4 separate regions of the Homo sapiens genome follow, and all the other regions are linked to region 4. The links are contacts of gene promoters, found by promoter capture Hi-C in blood cells and fetal thymus (Javierre and others, 2016). All regions are on one chromosome and are shown on one strand. The core of a region is centred on a gene start or on the middle of the fragment in contact, and the rest is flanking DNA. Distances in the headings are between cores, read along the strand shown.

What was found. Contacts are between HindIII fragments. The CHiCAGO score rates a contact against its expected background, and 5 or more counts as called.
Region 1: the fragment with the promoter of FANCL here is called in contact with the fragment with the promoter of BCL11A in region 4 in 6 of 17 cell types (total CD8 T cells, erythroblasts, naive CD8 T cells and 3 more); the score reaches 9.3 in total CD8 T cells.
Region 2: a fragment that was not itself captured here is called in contact with the fragment with the promoter of BCL11A in region 4 in 1 of 17 cell types (naive CD8 T cells); the score reaches 5.0 in naive CD8 T cells.
Region 3: a fragment that was not itself captured here is called in contact with the fragment with the promoter of BCL11A in region 4 in 8 of 17 cell types (naive CD8 T cells, activated CD4 T cells, non-activated CD4 T cells and 5 more); the score reaches 19.6 in naive CD8 T cells.

The regions. Positions count from the first base shown.
Region 1 is chr2:58,240,064-58,242,985 of GRCh38, reverse strand. It overlaps FANCL (FA complementation group L), which reads left to right and starts at 1,661. Exons shown (of 14, transcript NM_018062.4): 1 at 1,661-1,768. The coding sequence starts at 1,673. RefSeq lists an enhancer at 1,314-1,473 and a silencer at 2,014-2,063. The HindIII fragment of the contact is 7,787 bases long and covers 1-2,922 here.
Region 2 is chr2:57,768,139-57,771,268 of GRCh38, reverse strand. No RefSeq gene overlaps it. Among named protein-coding and RNA genes, the nearest start is that of VRK2, 280 kb to the left of the region's middle. The HindIII fragment of the contact is 1,053 bases long and covers 1,010-2,062 here.
Region 3 is chr2:57,743,796-57,746,755 of GRCh38, reverse strand. No RefSeq gene overlaps it. Among named protein-coding and RNA genes, the nearest start is that of VRK2, 300 kb to the left of the region's middle. The HindIII fragment of the contact is 9,428 bases long and covers 1-2,960 here.
Region 4 is chr2:60,552,284-60,555,251 of GRCh38, reverse strand. BCL11A (BCL11 transcription factor A) reads left to right here and starts at 1,598. Exons shown (of 4, transcript NM_022893.4): 1 at 1,598-2,036. The coding sequence starts at 1,982. RefSeq lists silencers at 1-88, 1,029-1,118, 2,528-2,887 and an enhancer at 289-338. The HindIII fragment of the contact is 6,342 bases long and covers 1-2,968 here.

The sequences.
Region 1 (2,922 bases), core at 412-2,911, 2.3 Mb after region 4:
TCCTCAAACCTTAGCATGCATCAGAATCACCTGGAGAGCTTGTTAAAACGCAGACTGCTGAGCCCTATTGCCAGTGTTTGGGATTCCCGAGGTTTGAAATAGGGGCCTGTAGGGAATGAGAAACATCTTTCTTTCCTGTTGCTAGATTCCTGTTTGAGTCCCTTATAAGAAAAGACAGATTAATAAGAGAAAAGCGTGCAAATTTATTTAAGTTTTATGTGGCATGGGAGCCTTCAGAGATGAAGCCCAAAGAAACAGGAAAACCTGTGCATTTTTAGAAGGAACAGTGGACAGTTGTGGGGAAGTACGGTTGGACAAAGCATGGTCTAATGGTAATAAACTGGGGTAAGTTGTCAAAGGTCTTTTTGTTCAGATTCTTTTCTATGTCTCCGTTTCTTTAGAGATAAGGATATTTCTTTCCTGTGGGTATAGGAAGAGCACCTCTGGATTGAGGATCCAATGACCCGCCTCAGGGAAGAAGGATGGGAGAAGGTCAGAGAGTGATCTTAGGTTTTGTTGTTTTCTCAAATGTCAAGGGGCCATATTTTGGGGTAGCATATCCTGAACCCCATCAGCGGTGAAAACTTGTATTTCTACATAGTTCCCAGGTGATGCTGTTGCTAGGTTCTAGGATCACGTTTTGAGAACCACTGCTTTAATGTAATTTATATCTAACCACTGCTCCAGCATTCTTTTCTGTAAGCATCCAGAATGCTGTGACAAATTCTTGTCAAACTTTAAGAATCTTCAGGATGTCAAATTCTGTCTTGAGGTCAATAAAGATGGGTAGGGGACGAAATAATCTTTGCTCAACCTTTGGCACATTACAATGATGTTTTTCAAATAGTAGGGCTCAAACGTGATGCATTGGAAAATTGGAAAATTGGAAAATCAAATAATCATATGGTAAATATTTTAGTAGGTTTCTTATTTAATCAACTCTTAATAAGATGGGATGGATAACATTCCTGAGTTAGAAAAACATATTGCAAGCGCTGTCAGAGGAAAATTAAGTTCAAGTCCATCAGCAATCTTTACTCATGTTTTGCTTTATATATTTGTGAGTGCCGTACACAGAACTGAGTCCAGTGTTGACTTGAGTCTAATCAATACACATATACGTATACATGTGTGTGCCTCAAATATATCTGATTGAACTTAGTAAGCCACAGAACTGTAATATATATGATATAATCAATGTGTTATACATTATATTACAATAATTATACACAAAATAATACATTATTCTGTATGTTAAGGGAGAGAGGACAACAGCAAAGAAGACAGAGTGCTACAACGTCCAGGCTGTAAAAGTCATTTTATTCTGGAGGAAATGCAACACCAAAGTTGTAACAGTCTTTCAATAAAGTAAAACAGAATCATCGAAAGGGCTCCTGGGACAATTGAGGCTAGAATGATCTTGGTCAGTCAGTCCTGTGGACTTGAGGGCAATCTTCCCTCCCACTACCGGTTGGGGAGCCCTGATGTCGCCTCCCGCAGAGCGCCACTTGGCCTGGCCTGCGCTTCACCTTCATTTCCGCCCGCGGAATCCTCCAGGATCTTCCCGCCAAGGCTGGGGTTTCCGCTCCGCGGCGTCCGAGCGCCAGCGGACTGCGCATGTGCAGGACCCAGCAGGTCTAGAGCTTTTCTGTGTTTCTCCGGACTTCGAGCCATGGCGGTGACGGAAGCGAGCCTGTTGCGCCAGTGCCCCCTGCTTCTGCCCCAGAACCGGTCGAAAACCGTGTATGAGGGATTCATCTCGGCTCAGGTACCCGCCCAGTGGTTGCTTTCTAGCTAAGAGAGCCTCTTGCAGCGTAGCTGCGCGGAGAAGTCTGTGACGGGCTAGGAGGTTAGGGGCCCAGACTTGTGGGGATTGAGAGGGGCGGCGCGTAACGGCTCTTGGGAGACTAAAGGTTTGAGAAGCGCCGCTGTCGCCGCCACCCCGGTGGTCGCCGCGCTGGATGGGGAGCGAGGAGGCGCGCGGCGTGGAGCGGGGCTGGGGCCACGCCTCCTCTCTCCCTAGCCCTTCCCCGAGTTTGGCTTCCTTCTTCGTTCAGTGTCCCGCAATTGACTGTTTTTTAATTTTTTTTTTGTAAATTTTGCCTTAACTCGATTTTAACACCCTCCACCTCCACGGATGTTGATGAGTTCACTCGGGAATCTGGGCTAATTATTTTCGTGTTTCCTGTAGAAAGAACATTTGGGAAGAAAACCTTATTTTGGCCCTTTGCCAAGTCGTATGTACCTGTACACCCACAGTTACAATATCTTCTAGGAGAAGCATGACAGCAATGGAATTAATTAACTTTGCTGATTCCAGTGGCCTCTCATATGGAGTTTATTACACATACTAACACATGTGTAGGGTTTTGAAGTTTACAAAGCGCTTTCCAGGTAAATAGTTCACTTAATCCTCAGCCCTTTGAGGCAGAAATTTTTAAAAGAATCATCATTCCCATTTTCTAGTTGAAGAAATCAAGGTATGGGAAACCGGAGACGTTATTTGCTGATGATCACATCAGAATCCCTTAAACGCAGGCTGTGTGATTTCAGTCCTGGATTTTTTTCTCTTTACATTGCACCAGGATACCTTAGGTTAGGAGTGTAGACTTTTCCTTTCTGACCATTACACTCAACCTTGTGCCCACTTCCCCACCATCACGCATAGTCTTTGAGTATATGTGGAATTACCATATGACCATCACAGAAAGTAGAGGTTAAAAATTCATTATTCCATATGGAAAAAAGTTAATCCACCTTTCCCTCTCCAATTAGAAGTATTCTTCTTGAATTACCTAGCTGAAAATATGATTCTCTTGTAGACAACATTTAGAAAAGTTGAAAAATTTTAAGTTACTTTTTTTTTTTTTTTTTTACAGGAAGCATGTTATACCTAATTTTAGGCAAAATACTGTTATGTAT
Region 2 (3,130 bases), core at 287-2,786, 2.8 Mb after region 4:
TGGATCCAGGCATGGATCATCAATGGCTGCTAACATCAGAAAAAAGTAAACAATCCTGTATTATGTACCACCTGAGGGTAGTATACCATACCATCTATGAAATATTCTTGCCAAAACGTAGAACCAAAATTTGGACAAAATTCCTTATCTAAGACTCTATTTCTAGGAAGTACAGTTGATAGAGGAGCATGGTAAATGACACTGATCCAAAACATGGGAAATACTATAGGTTCATTGGCCTATTTTTGTTTGTTTTTCTTCGTGTTTTTGCTGACAAATAAATTGCAAGGGGAAAAACACAGAAAGGAACCTCTTAACTATTTGCAGTGTATGGATCTTATTTGGATGTTGATATTAACAGTCTGAGGAAGGAAAGGGAAGAAGGAGAAAGAAGGGGTAAAGATGAAGGATTTTTAACACTGTCTAATTTAAAGGCACACAGTGAAATATGTGCAGATGAAATAATGAGTGGATTTGTTTCAAAATAATCTGAGGTTGGTATGGGGAATTCGTAAGGGTACAGATAAAACAAGACTGACCATGAGGTGATAATTGTTGAAGCTGGGTCATGGATGGGTACATAGCAGTTTATTCTAACAGTATTGCTTAAAAACAATGGCCACAGCAACAACCTCAAATGTCCAACAATATGGCTTTGATTAAACAATTTGTGGTATAACCACAAGATAAAATAATATGCAGCCATTAAAATGATATTTATATTATATAGAATGTTTAAAAATACTTAAGCATTCAAAATATTCATAGAACATTAATAAGTGTAAAAAGGTTACAAAACAGGATGTAGTGGATAATCCAATTCAAATGCATAGAAAGGAAATCAAGATTAGTAATAATGGTTTCTGAGTTAGGGAATTAATTACTTTCATTTGTTTTCTTTGTGCTTTTTTGTATATTTTTCAAATTTCTGCAATAAGTACGCATACATTTTATCAGATTTATAATATCATTAAAAATTAGGGAAAGAAAAAATGTGGTTTAGAAAGCTTTTCTCCCTAAATGATGAAAACTTACATTTTATGTGTTCTATAGAAGTAAAGTTTCAACATGTGGACAAAGCATATACTATTTTGTGGTTATGTATTATAAATAATATATTACCATAACTTCGCTGGAAAAGTCAAGGGAAATTAGTTTCATTATTTGTATCTTGTTTAAGAAGAAAATGAAGTGCACTGTGTGTGTGTGTGTGTGTGTGTGTGTGTGTGTGTGTGTGCTGCATGAGAGAGGGTCAAGGAAAAGGAGTCTAACATTTGCAGGATACCTAGATTAAGCTATATATATTACCTTTAGAATTCTCAGTACAGACTTTTGAGGTTGACTTGTATGTCTGCTTTAGAGGTAAGGAAACAGAGACACAGTTTGCAGCATGTAACTGCTGGAGCTGAAAATCAAGCCAAGGGCATTTGGGCTTCCACTAGACCTCCTTGTACCATTTAGCAATCTGACCCTTTTACTAGGGTGTTTATTTCGTCAAAGTATACTGCTAAAACATTTTGCTATTACCATACTATAAAACTAAAAATTATATAATCTATTATTCTGGTACTTGTTATCCAGTTTCCAAAATATTTTCATTAAAATAAAGTTTGAAACTTAAAAATTATTTTACTTAGAAAGAAAGGAATTGGTAAGAGATACCTAAACCTGCTACATTGCCTGCTACAGCGATGGCATCACTTTCCTCTTGACTCTCCCTGCTAGGTGCAGCTTTCAGCACGGTAGAGCACAAGAGATGACATCTGGGGTGGCTAAGGGTCACCTGGCTCTATATTCTTATTCCAGATGAACTCCACAGATCCTTTGATACCACCATTTGGGTTACTTTGTCAGCTAGTTGTTTTTTGTTTTTTACTTCGAGGACTATTTATTAAGAAACGTGTAGTAAAGTCTAGAGTGGAATTCACTAACTGATAAGAAAGATGAGTTAGCTGTTAAAGGGAGGGTCCAGGAAAGGAAGAATGCAACCTAAATAGGTGAGCATTTCAATGAAGAGGTGACTCTTTGGGGTTGGCATGTTCATTTCCTTGCTCCATAAGCTTTTGTTGAACACCTGTTATGTGCCAGGATATCAACTTGGTAAACAGTCTCAAAATAGATCCTTTAATTTTTTTCAAATAAGATGGACTTTAAAACATTTTACATGGATATAGATATAATGGTAAGTGTGGCCCAGATTGGTATTGGTGTGTTGCACCCTTCCACTCTTAAACTCTAGTGCTTATTCATCTGTGAATTGAAAGAGTAAGACCTGAAAACACAGGCACAAAGTAAGCTATTTGGGAAAACAAGGCATAGCCTTTACTCCCTACTTCCAGAGGAACATGCACACACACACGCACATGCACACACACATATTATATGTAATCTTTAAAATATTAATATATTTTAATCTGTACTGTTTTAGAATACATTAAGTATTGAAATCTTGGCACTTCTACCAATGTGCTTCAGAAAGAATCATGATATTCATATAAGAGTGTACTAGCATCATACTGACAGTCCTGTTTGTTTTGTTTCCAAAATGTATTGAGATACTATTTTGATTGTCATGACCCTTAACATAGACTTCCCTTTAATTATAGTCTTTATTCCAATATAAAGGATGCAATCCCTTGACCAATCAATTTATTTATCTCTATTCTAATAATTCTATAAAAATGTGCAAACAGCATCTGTTCACTTCATGGATTTAAAAAATCATGAGTAATCATTCTCAATAATGGGAGAGATTTCTTGTAATTCAAAATTTCAAGAAGTCTCCATTGAGAAATCTGAGTGGTACATCTATTGTATGTGTTTGTAGTTTTTGAAAATTGACCAGCGTGGCCAACATGGTGAAACCCAATCTCCACTAAAAATACAAAAACTAGCTGGATGTGGTGGCACATGCCTGTAGTCCCAGCTACTTGGGAGGCTGAGGCAGCAGAATTGCTTGAACCCGGGAGGCAGAGGTTGCAGTGACCTGAGATCACGCCACTGCAGTCTAGCCTGGGTGACAGAGCAAGACTCTGTCTCAAGATAATAATAATAAGAAGAAGAAAATTGTTATGTGGCCACCCTGAAGTTACTTTACCTTTTTATTTCTAATTATGTCCATTATTGGAAT
Region 3 (2,960 bases), core at 191-2,690, 2.8 Mb after region 4:
ACAGGGATTTTTTTGTTTTGTTTTTGTTTTGTAGGATGCCAACTGTGTATGGTACTTACGCAAAATTCTAGCGAACGGAAAGAACCAGAAAATAAATATTAATAAATCACATTAAACTATATAAGTCAATGGACTCTTTTATAAAGAAAGCACATTTGTTACACTTATTGATTACAGATAACTTGAATATAGTAACAGAGATATACATGAGCAGATCTGACAAATAAGGTATTTAATGTTCCTTTTCTGATTTCCTGACTTGTAAATATGTTAAGAACTGTGTCTTTAAATATGGCCTGGTGTATTAGATAGGATATAGAATATAAATTTCTTAAAATGTTCTTGACCAAAGATGAAAAAATTTCCAGATTTAATGAGATTTATGTTAAGAACACTGGCCAGTTGTTGCAATGACAATAAATGACACCTGAGTATAAGGTCACCAAAAATATGTCATCATATTTCTTGAGGCAAATTTTAAAGAAATATGCTCTTGTGGTTAGTATGACTGTTGGTGAGACTAAGACTGTCATTGTTCTGGCTGAGTAGGCAAAGTCTGTGTTACGTGTTTTGTTGTATCCAAGGTTCCCAATACAGTGGAGGGCTTTGCTAAATAGCCTTTTCAGGGGATGTGGACTTTAAAAATAAAGGTGAACTGTTTGTTCCTTTCCTGTGAAGTATCAGCTGCACTCTAAAATAATGTAGAGTATCTTTAGATCTTGAACCAAGCCCATTATGTATATTATTTTAAATTCTCTTTCACTATATAATAAATTGAGGAGACTATATTGACACTAACTTGCCATTCATTTAGCTCTCAAAAATGACAGCTTTCACTCCAAAGACTTGTAAGCAGTGTTATTCTGCCTGTCCCATCATTACAAACAAATTAAAATTCAAGATCGAAATATTGTTATCAGTTGAGAAAGCTGCCAGCTCTTTAAGAAGAGCCTATCTTTCATGATAAGGACAGACTAGTACCCTTTGGAGCAAAAAACTGCAGCTATACATTCCTTATTTTGTATGATTTCACTGTTTTCCAGAGGCTCAAGGAAGGTTAGAAATGAAGTTATGGGATTAAAAAAATATTTAATCTAAGTTGTAAAGGAGCTTGGAACCATAACACAAGCATCATAATTAACTTTAATAATTATAAATGTAAATGCAGACAAGCCACAAGGTTTTAATGGTGTGCCACATGCTTCTGCTAATTATTTTAGAGTTTGGACACATTCAGTGCCAGCTAATTATAAACCCTGCTATGGAAATCATCTGTTTATATTAGACTTATTGATCTCTAGTGTTTAAGCAATATGAAAAGGGAAATCTACAATGCTGGACCATCTGCTTTGTATTCCTCATTGCTTTTAAGGAATCAAATATATAAATAGTCAGCTTTTTATATATTGGGCTTCTAACTCTTTCAAGAGACATATAGTACAAACCCAAGTGAATTTTAAAAGCCTATTTGAAATGTTGCTTCCCTGGCTTGTCTCAAATACCCTTCACCCCTTGCCCACATCATATTTTCCTTTGACCTTTCTGCAGATCTCCAAAGCACCTTCTTTTCCCCCAGATCTCACAAACTGGTCAAGGTAACTGAGACTTGAGTTGCTTACCATCTTCTAATTACACCTTTTCTTTTACTTTCTATAAACAAGTCATTTTCCCACCCCCCATTCCCTTATAACCATGAATATTACATCATGAGTGCAGAAGAGGATGGCAAGGAAAGAAATGTCCAGGTGAATGTTTTTCTCTTCTGGGAAATATTTCACTTTAGGACAAATTAAATTTCCTGGTGTGTAGAGTGGATGCCCAGTGGGACCAGAGCAGTGTTACTTCTCAACCCTAACAGGCCTGGCAGGAAAGTCTGCTCTTAGGGTACATCTTGTGATTCTACATGGAGGTTGAGATTAAATGAAGAAAGAGTTGACTTCTTAGAATAAAGTTGTTCACTTCATCCATCACTGCCTACATAGCTATTATTTAAGAGTGTTCAACTCATTGGCCGAAAATATCCACACCCTGGAAAAACTTGCCTGCTTGCTTGCTTTCTCTCTTTCTTTTTCTTTCTTCCTTCCTTCCTTCCTTCCTTCCTTCCTTCCTTCCTTCCTTCCTTCCTTCCTTCCTTCCTTCCTTTCTTTCTTTCTTTCTTTCTTTCTTTCTTTCTCTTTCTTTCTTCTTTCTTTTTTTCTTTCTTTTTTCTTTCTCTTTCTCTCTCTCTTTCTCTCTTTCTCTCTCTCTCTCTTTCTCTCTTTCTTTCTTTTTCTTTTCTTTCTTTTCATGGAGTCTCACTCTGTCACCCAGGTGTTGCATAATGCTCTAAATAAAAGAAGATTTAATTAAAAATGTATCTGCTACCATCACTAATATGCAGTCATGTGTCTTGGGCAATACTTAGGTGGCAAACTCCTCACCCCAGTGTTTGTTAAAATAGCTAGTTGTGTTAGAATGGTTGTGACTTTTCTGCAAAGAATTATCTGTTAGAAATCTGCTCCTCTGAAGTATTTTATCTACCCCTCCGTAAAGGCTATACTCATTCTGTTTTTTTCTAAAGTTTTGAATGGAAGTTCTATTACCTACCACTTAGCCTGGTACTGTTGACTACAAGATATCTGAGTTTTAATCTTGGCACATATATAATTGTAAGGCAGGCCTTCTGTATAGTCTAAGTTCATTTTAATCAGAGTTACAGGTTCCATTCAGTTCCTCGGTGAAAAAGAGAATAGTCAAAGTCAGAAAGGAATTAGGAGCTTTTTAAAAAGGTGCTTTAAACAGCTCATGTTCCCCAAGCCCTCAAAGAAAGTTACAAATCAAGAGAGCACAATTGGCAGCTACATTATCAAAGACCTTCTGATAATGCTACCATTAACATTGAATAATATTGTTTAATGGGCTTTTTAAAAGCAGCCATCCTTTGGATCTGACACTTCAGCATGATTATTTTCCATTCCCAT
Region 4 (2,968 bases), core at 349-2,848:
GCGGGAGGCGCCAGGGGACTTTACAGGCACGTTTCTGAATAAACTTTCCAATCGCAGGGGGTGCTGTTGCTGTACATTTTACGTAAAACTGAAAGTATCCCACGCCAGAGTGAAGCCCGCTTTTTGACAGCGGCAGCACGCGCGTGTGTGTGCGTGTGTGCATTAAAGAGACAGGGTTTTATTTCCAACAGGTCTTCCCTAATTTCCAGGGAACGTCTGCAGAAAGGCGAGAGGGGGCTGCTGGCTCCTGGGTGTGCGCCTTGGCCGGCGGCGCCTGGGGAGCGCGGCGGTGACCCGAGGCGGTCATCTCACCACCGTGGTCTCCCCGCTGCTCCTGCGAGCCTGTCGCTCTCTCTCCATTCCCATTTTCTCTTTCCCTGGGTAACAGCACAGGAACAGTTGTGCTCTGCCCGTAAGAAACATTTTCTTCCCATCCCTCTGTGCTTTTGCAGTTGCTCTGGAGTGGGAGGGGGTGTGTCCCTCCCAGGGACCCGGCTCGGGGACCTCCCGCGGCGCCGTGAGCACATTCCCAGGGACTGGGACTCCCGGGACTGCCCGCGCTTTGTCCTCGGCCTCTCAGAGAGGTGGACGCCTCGGTGCCTCTCTTGCCCAGGCCCCCGGCGCTCCCCTCCGGGGGCCAGACTCTGGCTCCTCGTTCTTTATTCCTCGGGCTCTCTTTCTGCGACCCTTAGGAGCCGGGGACTCGGCGCTTTCAGTTGCATTCAGACCCAGTCGCTTGGCGGGGCGCTCAGATTCCCGGTCCCTGGCTCGGCCTTGGGGGCGCCCTCGGGCCCCGGCCTGCGCCGCCTGCCTCTCCCCGGTCCCCTCTTTCCAGGCCGCGCGGGCTCCTGGAGACTTGGGCGCTGCCCTTCCGGACCCGCAGCCCTCCAAACTTAGGCTGGATTCCGCGTTGCCGTGCGCTCCCTCCCACCTCCCCTCGCCCGCTGCGGAGCTGTAACTTGGAGGCTCAGCTCTCAACTTCGGGTGATTTTTCTTTGCTGTCCTCTCCTCGGGCAAAGTTTCCCGAGCGCAGCCGCGGGCTCGGGGCTTTTACTTCGGCCCCTGGCGTCCACACGCGGGGAGCGAGCGCGGCGGCGGCGGGGAGGGGAAGTGGGTGTGCGTACGGAGGAGGGTGTCCGGGAGCAACTCTACCTGGCTTCCCTCCGCCCGCGCTTCCCCAGCCCGGGGCTGCAGCCTCCCGGTGCACTCTCGCTCTATTTTTTTCTTTTTTGAATAATCTTTCATTTTAGAGTCCGCGTGTGTGGGGGGGAGCAGGGCGCACGTCTTGCTCCCCCCCACCCTTTCCTCCCACCCCTGCCACCCCTTTCTTCTCTCCCGGCCACGCCACCGCCGCGGCGCTCGCTGCGGCCACTGGTGAGCCCGCGGCCCCAGCGCCCCCTCCCCTCGGCCCGCCCCTCCCCCGGGGGCCGCGTCTGGCGTCCGCGGAGCCCCCCGCCCCGCACCTCCCCCTCCCCGCACTGGCCATTGGCTTGTCCTGGTCTCTTTTTCATGTCCAGCCCCTGATGTGTGTCCATTGGTGTGAGCTTCCCCTTCCCTCCTCCCCTTCTCTCCTGCTCGCCCTGCCCATGTTTTGTGTGTCTCTGTCCATCCAGACTCCTGACGTTCAAGTTCGCAGGGACGTCACGTCCGCACTTGAACTTGCAGCTCAGGGGGGCTTTTGCCATTTTTTTCATCTCTCTCTCTCTCTCTCCCTCTATCTCTCTTCTCTCTCTCTCCCTCTTTTTTTTTTTTTTTTTTTTTTTTTTTTTGCTTAAAAAAAAGCCATGACGGCTCTCCCACAATTCATCTTCCCTGCGCCATCTTTGTATTATTTCTAATTTATTTTGGATGTCAAAAGGCACTGATGAAGATATTTTCTCTGGAGTCTCCTTCTTTCTAACCCGGCTCTCCCGATGTGAACCGAGCCGTCGTCCGCCCGCCGCCGCCGCCGCCGCCGCCGCCGCCCGCCCCGCAGCCCACCATGTCTCGCCGCAAGCAAGGCAAACCCCAGCACTTAAGCAAACGGGAATTCTCGCGTAAGTAACCCAATAATAGTAATAATAATTATTAATAATCACGAGAGCGCGCAGGACTAGAAGCAAAAGCGAGGGGGAGAGAGGGGTGTGTGCATGCATTTTTAAATTTTTCACGAGAAAAACCTCCGAGAGTCGAGGTAAAAGAGATAAAGGGGGAAAAAACCCTCATCCCATCTGGAACCATTGCCGTGTATGCACTTTTGAGACAGCACGCACCTTTTAATTTTATTTAATTTTACAAAAATTTGACTCCTCCTCTTTCCTCCTTTCCGCCGCTTTATTTCTCTTTTCGAAAAGGAATGCAATGATTCCACTCCCCCCCCGCCCCGCCAGTTTTGCAAAATAATGAACAATGCTAAGGTTGCGAACAACTCACATGCAAACCTGGGGGTGGGAGCTGGTGGGGAAAGGGAGGTTGCTTCCCACTCACCGTAAGAAAATGGGGGGGTAGGGAGGGAGTGAGTACAAGTCTAAAAAACGATTCCCGGGGAGAAAAGAGGTGAGACTGGCTTTTGGACACCAGCGCGCTCACGGTCAAGTGTGCAGCGGGAGGAAAGTAGTCATCCCCACAATAGTGAGAAAGTGGCACTGTGGAAAGGGGCCCCCGGCGCTCCTGAGTCCGCGGAGTCGGGAGAGGGGCCGCGGCGACGGGGAGAGCCGTGGGACCGGGAAGGACGGGAGACGCGGCCGGCACTGCCGCCTTTTGTTCCGGCCAGAGGTGGGTGTTTGTCCCGCTGCCTTTTGTGCCGGCTCCTCGCGCTTGCCCTCCCGCGCCGCCGCCGCCGCCGCCGCCGAAGGGCAGGAGCTAGGGCCGGGGGAGGAGGCGGCCGGGGGCACGCGGGAGAGGGAGGGAGGGAGCCCGGACTGCTGCCTCCTGGGTTGCCGCTGCCCTCCCCTCCCGACCGAACCTCAGAGGCAGCAAGGAGAAGACT